Regions from separate parts of the Homo sapiens genome. Here region 2 is linked to region 1. Evidence: promoter capture Hi-C in human tissues and cell types (Jung and others, 2019). All regions are on one chromosome and are shown on one strand. Each heading gives the region's core, a stretch centred on a gene start or on the middle of the fragment in contact. The rest is flanking DNA. Distances are from core to core; before and after follow the strand shown. Region 1 holds the start of RGS12 (regulator of G protein signaling 12). Region 2 has its middle 180 kb from the start of ADRA2C.

Evidence for each region. The method cuts DNA at HindIII sites, captures the fragments that hold promoters and counts their contacts. A contact is called where the count stands out against the background at its distance.
Region 2: a fragment that was not itself captured here is called in contact with the fragment with the promoter of RGS12 in region 1 in 2 of the 25 tissues and cell types used here (dorsolateral prefrontal cortex and lymphoblastoid cells).

What each region holds. Positions count from the first base shown.
Region 1 is chr4:3,291,667-3,294,366 of GRCh38, forward strand. RGS12 (regulator of G protein signaling 12) reads left to right here and starts at 1,355. Exons shown (of 18, transcript NM_001394154.1): 1 at 1,355-1,433. RefSeq lists silencers at 661-770, 951-1,430, 1,441-1,490 and an enhancer at 2,144-2,700. The HindIII fragment of the contact is 22,100 bases long and covers 1-2,700 here.
Region 2 is chr4:3,940,688-3,943,387 of GRCh38, forward strand. It overlaps the pseudogene ALG1L7P and the pseudogene FAM86EP. Among named protein-coding and RNA genes, the nearest start is that of ADRA2C, 180 kb to the left of the region's middle. The HindIII fragment of the contact is 3,071 bases long and covers 1-2,700 here.

The DNA.
Region 1 (2,700 bases), core at 105-2,604:
TGGGTCATCAAGGGCTGGCTGTGTCCCTTGGCCATAGGTCGCAGCTCCTGTTAAGTATCTCTCTCTCTTTGTCTGGCTTCCTGTAACCGCTCTGGCCGCGCTCCTTCAGCCCTGCAGGTGAAAACAGTTCCCTCCCTGCTGTTACCTGTCCCAATTCAGCACCGCCCTGTGGCTTCCCGGCTCCCGGACCGCGCCTCTGCCAGCGGGAACCCTGCTGGACTCTTAATTAATTGTCCCACTGAGAATGCCATTGGTTTCCTCCTGGGATCCAAACTAATCACACAAGACTAGATGATGGAGAGCTGCCAAGAAACCATGGGGCGGTGGCGGGGACGGAGGGGAAGCGTTTTGAGCCCATCAAGGCAGGTGACAGGAAAGAAGCAAACCCGAGAGGGGCCGAGTCCCTGGGCGGGCGGCAGGGCTGGAGCGTGAACAGCAGCGACGGATGCGTCTCGAGGGAAAAACGCGGCGGGAGAGAATGAGGGGAAGGCAGGAAGGAAGGGGCAGGGAGACCCAGCGCCGGGGAAGGAAGACACGAAGAGGGCGAGGAAGGAACTCCGGCCTAAAGGGTGAAGGCGGCGGCTGGGACAGGGCCAGAGGCGCAGGCCGGGGCCGGGCAGCTCCTCCTCTCGTGCCAGCGGTGCCTCCGGTCCCGCCCTCGCTGCTGCCCGCGCTCCGGGAGGGGCAGACCCGCTGGACGCCGCAGTCACCGCGCCGCCTTCGCGGGCGTCCCGGGGCCCGGAGGGAACGGCCTTTCCTGGCTGTCCCCGTGGCTTCGCCGCGGGAACTCACGCCGCCCCCGAAGCTGCCGCCAGCTCCGGGCATCTGCCCAGCCGAAAAGCCAGGGCGCCGGGGCCTGACTCCCCACAGCCAGGTTTCCCGGGCACAGAGACCCAACGGGAGCGGGACTTCCTCGGACACCGACGGCGAAGGACAGAGACAGCCCAGGCAGGGGCGGCTCCTCCCGGCCACACCGACCTGCCCTTCGCAGGGTGTCCCGGGCCAGCGGAGGCAGAGAAAACCAGCTTGCGGGAACGCAGTCGCTCCCAGCACCAGGGCCGGGCCAGTGCGGGTACACACCGTGCGCACCAGCGCCGCCGCGCCCCCAACGGAAGTCCCGCCCCCGGCCGTGGAGGCCCCGTCCCTCGCTTCTTCTCATCCCTGCTTCCCTGGCAGTCCCGTTACCACGCTGTCCCGACGCGAAGGCCCTCGCCCCGCCCCGTGCCCCGCCCCCGCATCGCCCCGCCCCAACCCCACCCCCTTGGCCCCGCCTCACCAGGTTCGCCCCGCCCCTCTCCGTCCCCGCCCCTCCTCCGGCCTCGGCCCCGCCCTCGCCTCGACCCCGGGGGGCGGTGGCTGCCGAGGCGACCGTTGCGCGCGCGGGCGGTGGCGCGGGCCGAAGCGCCCGGAGCGGGAGCGAGCGGCGCGGCCCGGTAGGTGTGCGGGGCCGGGGCCGGGGCGGGGGCAGGGCGCGCCGCCTCCGCTCTTTCTTTCGTCTCCGGGGCGCGCGCCCGCGCCCTCCGCCTCCCGGCCGATCCCGGCCAGCCCTGCGCGGCGCCCGTCCCCTCGGGGTCGCCGCCCGCCCGCCCTGCCTTTTGTTCGCCGGCCTGACTCAGGCTCCTGGTCCCGGGCCCGGCGCGGGGCGGGGCGGGGCGGGGGCGGGGGCGGGCGGCGCGGGGCGCGGGCCTGTGGGGCCTCCGGCCGGGCGGGTGCGCGGCCTCCTGGGGCCCCGCGCTGTGAGGCCCGCCCGGGCCCTTGGCGGGACCCGCGGGGGCGGCGCCGGGCAGGGGGTCCCGCGGGCGAGATGCGCCCGGGAGCGCTGGGAGGGTTCCCTCGTCGGACTCCACGAGCGGCCGCTTTGTTAGGGCAGAAGCTGCCTTCCGAGACCCGAACTCCAGACGCACTGCAGCGACCTGGGGTCGCCTCAGCCGCGGTGCCGCGATTGTGCAGTGTAGACAGAGGGGTCCCAGAGCCGTGCGGTGTAGACAGAGAGGGGCCCAAAGCTGTGGAATGGGGACAGAGAGGGGACCCAGAGCTGTGGAGTGTAGACAGAAAGGGCGCCCAGAGCCATGGAGTATAAACAGTGGAGTGTAGACAGAGAGGGGGCCCAGAGCTGTGGAGTGTGGACAGAGAGGGGGCCCAGAGCCGTGGAGTGTAGACCGAGAGGGGGCCCAGAGCCGTGGAGTGTAGACAGAGAGAGGGCCCAGAGCCATCTAGTGTAGACAGAGAGGGGACCCATAGCTGTGGAGTGTAGACAGAGTCTCATAGCCGTGCAGACAGAGAAGGGGCCCAGAGCCATGGAGTGTAGACAGTGGAGGGTGAACACAGAGGGGGCCCAGAGCCGTGGAGTGTGGACAGAGAGGACCACCTGGCCTCTCACCTGCTTGGTCACTTGCTGGGAATGTGTCCCTGGGCAGGTGACCACCTTCTCTGTGCCTGAGTTTCCTCATTGGACCTGTCTTTGGAGCTGCTGCAAGGGCTAAGAGTGTCTTTGTCTGAAGTCCTCAGCGTGGTCCATGCCGTCCTGTGCAGGGCCCTTCTGAGGCCACAGGGACGTGCAGGATGGCCGGCAAGGCCTGCACAGAAGGGGCGCTGGGGGGCCTTCCCAGGCAAGGCAGCAGCCCCACCATTCACAGCAAGGAGACTACCAAGGAGGGCAGAGAGGCGGCTTTGGGCAGCAAGGGCTGCTGGGGTGGAGTC
Region 2 (2,700 bases), core at 50-2,549, 650 kb after region 1:
TGTTTTTCTCTCCCACCATGTCCCTTTTGGCCAAGCTCACATGGTGGGTTTGAATGAGTTAAATGAGTGTCATGCTGTGGCCTCACTGCACCCAGCATAGATGGGTGTTTGGAAGGGTGGCGTTAGAGGAGATTCTAGAAGCAGTAGCCCCAGCACAAGTTGAGCCCTTGGCCCCTGCTCAGGAGCCGGCTCCTGGATGGGATTCAGGGATTCAAGCCCCTCGTGTGAGCTGAGCTCAGGGAACGTCTTGATCAAATCTGGTGCCCTAGAAAAGTCATCTTTTATGTGCTGAACCAGTCTCCAGGGGGTTGCCTTACTTGTTCCACAGCCATGGAATTAAGAAAAACATACAAAAATAATTCTTCAGTCCTTGAAGAGCATCCAGCACAGAAGGTACAAACCCTCCTTAAGGCTCCCTCCTCAAATCGGTTTGGCCATTTTGATGTGCACTCCCCCAGGCCTTTATACCCTTCAGATGCCAAATCTAAGAACCAGCTCCCAGAAACCACACCCCCTGTTCCAATCCCCAGCCTGGCTTGAGCGTGGGGTGCGAGGGGAGCCCAGGTGGGCACCCCAGGGGTCTGGTGTCTTCTCCAGGCAGCTCTCAGGCTCCCTTGGTTCTCTCTGCAGTTTACATGAGCTGGTGAAACATCAAGAAAACGGCTTGGTCTTTGAGGACTCAGAGGAACTGGCAGCTCAGCTGCAGGTAGCCACATCTGCCACTAAGCCAGGGTGGGCAGGGTTCTGGAGACTGGCACCGAGCCACGCTCCCTGATCCCTGCTTCCCACAGTCGGGGTGGGACCATGTGGGGTCTGGCGGAAAAGCTAGGGAGGGAGCAGAGGTCACAGAGGCTGGCCTACTCTGCTGTCCCGTTTCGGTACAGTAGGCTCGGGAAAGTTAGGACACAACCCCACCTGCCCGCCTGCCCGCTGGATTTATGGAACAGACACTCCACAAATGACGCTGGAGCCGGGTGGGCCGGGCTGCAGTTTAGGAAGTGAGCAGGATCAGGTAGGTGAGTGGGCAAAGGGAGCTTCTGGGACCAGCCTTGAAAGATGGGTGGAATTCTGCAAATGTTACTTGTTTCTTATTGCAAAAAGTAATACATCGTTCTTGCCAACAGAATGACTGGCAGGATTTTCAGTAAAGGTCCAAGTCGGAAGTCATTTAGACTGGGTCCCCTAGTCTCTGTCAGAACCATGGTACTCTGTTGGGGTGTGAAAGTAGCCACAGATCATCTGTAGATTAAGGGGTGTGGCTTTGTTCCAATAAATCTTTATTTACAAACACAGGCTGTGGGCTGGATTTGGCCTGCAGGCTGTAGTTTGTGATCCTTGATTCAGACAGTTTAGCAAGGCTGAAAAGAACACCGACACCCCCTTGTTACCCACAGATGGGTGGGACTTGGCCAGAGGCCAAGAGGAGGGTGCTCGCAGGGGAGCATACAGCATGAAGAGGCCGGGAGGTGCCCCAGGACACCAAGTGTGGGAAAGTGGGACATGCGGGGAAGTTCCCAGAAAGCGTGATGTCAAGTTGGAGGCGGAGCGCTGCTGGGGCGTGAAGAGTCTCGAGTCCAAGTGAGGGAGTTAAGAACTTGGTAGGGGTTGTTGTTGGGTCGGGCACCTGGGGTCAGCCAGGTGGTGACCTGGGATGCGGTGGGGACAGGCAATGAGGTAAGCTCTGCTCTTTAGTATTATGCAGATGCTTTTCTCAAACTTTCCTGATCCTGCAGGCAAGCTAAACCTGTTCCGGAAGAACCTGCGGGAGTCGCAGCAGCTCCGATGGGATGAGAGCTGGGTGCAGACTGTGCTCCCTTTGGTTATGGACACATAACTCCTGGGCCAGAGGCTAAAACCCCAGGGCCCCTGCTGTCCTTCCCGCAGCTTCTTCTTGGAGTCTCAGGGCAAACCCTTTCAAGCAGCGCCTCCCAGTGGCCAGAAGCTGAAATGACGGCAGTGGTGCCGCCTGGTGAGTGAATTGCTTCTGTGACCCGGGAAGCTGTGGTTGGCTCTGATTTCTTTTTTGGAGGCTTGGAAACACTTCCTCTCTTCTTCTGTTCTTCACGCCCCATGCCCCTGCTAGCGTACTACTGTTCTGTGACTTCCCTGTGACCTCTGCAGTACTCCTCATCCTGCGTTTGGTCTCCAGGTGTCGCCTTTCTGCCGTGTTCCTAATATTTTGATTCCTGTCTTGAAAAAAGCACCTGCTGCACAGTAAGCCCAGGGATGTGGCAGCTGCAGCGGGCTTGGCTTTGTGAGGAACCGGGTGTGTCCACGTTGGGGGAACATCATACTTGATACACACGTTTTTATTTGCACAAAGAAAATGCTATTTTTAGAGCCAGAATTTTCATGTCTGATTTATGGTGATTTTCTTAAGAACCAGAACTGCTGGCAGAAAGGGGGCACCCACACGCTTAGATAGCCGATGTCTTATTAGAGGGCAGTTTGTGGTTCCTGATTTGGAAATTAATATTCTCCAAACATTCCAGTCCAATGAAAGTTTTATCCGCTTTCCCATGTAAAAATTCTTCCCATGAGAGTGACTTGATCCTCACAATCCCGTTGAAGTCGCGTGTGAGTCCTACAGTATTAGGTTCAGCATTGCCATCTCCAAGTGCTCTTTGTAGGGAAACAGTTTCTGGTCATGACAAGCTTCCACTTCCCATCTGATCCTGGCCTGGCCTGGAAACAGAGCAC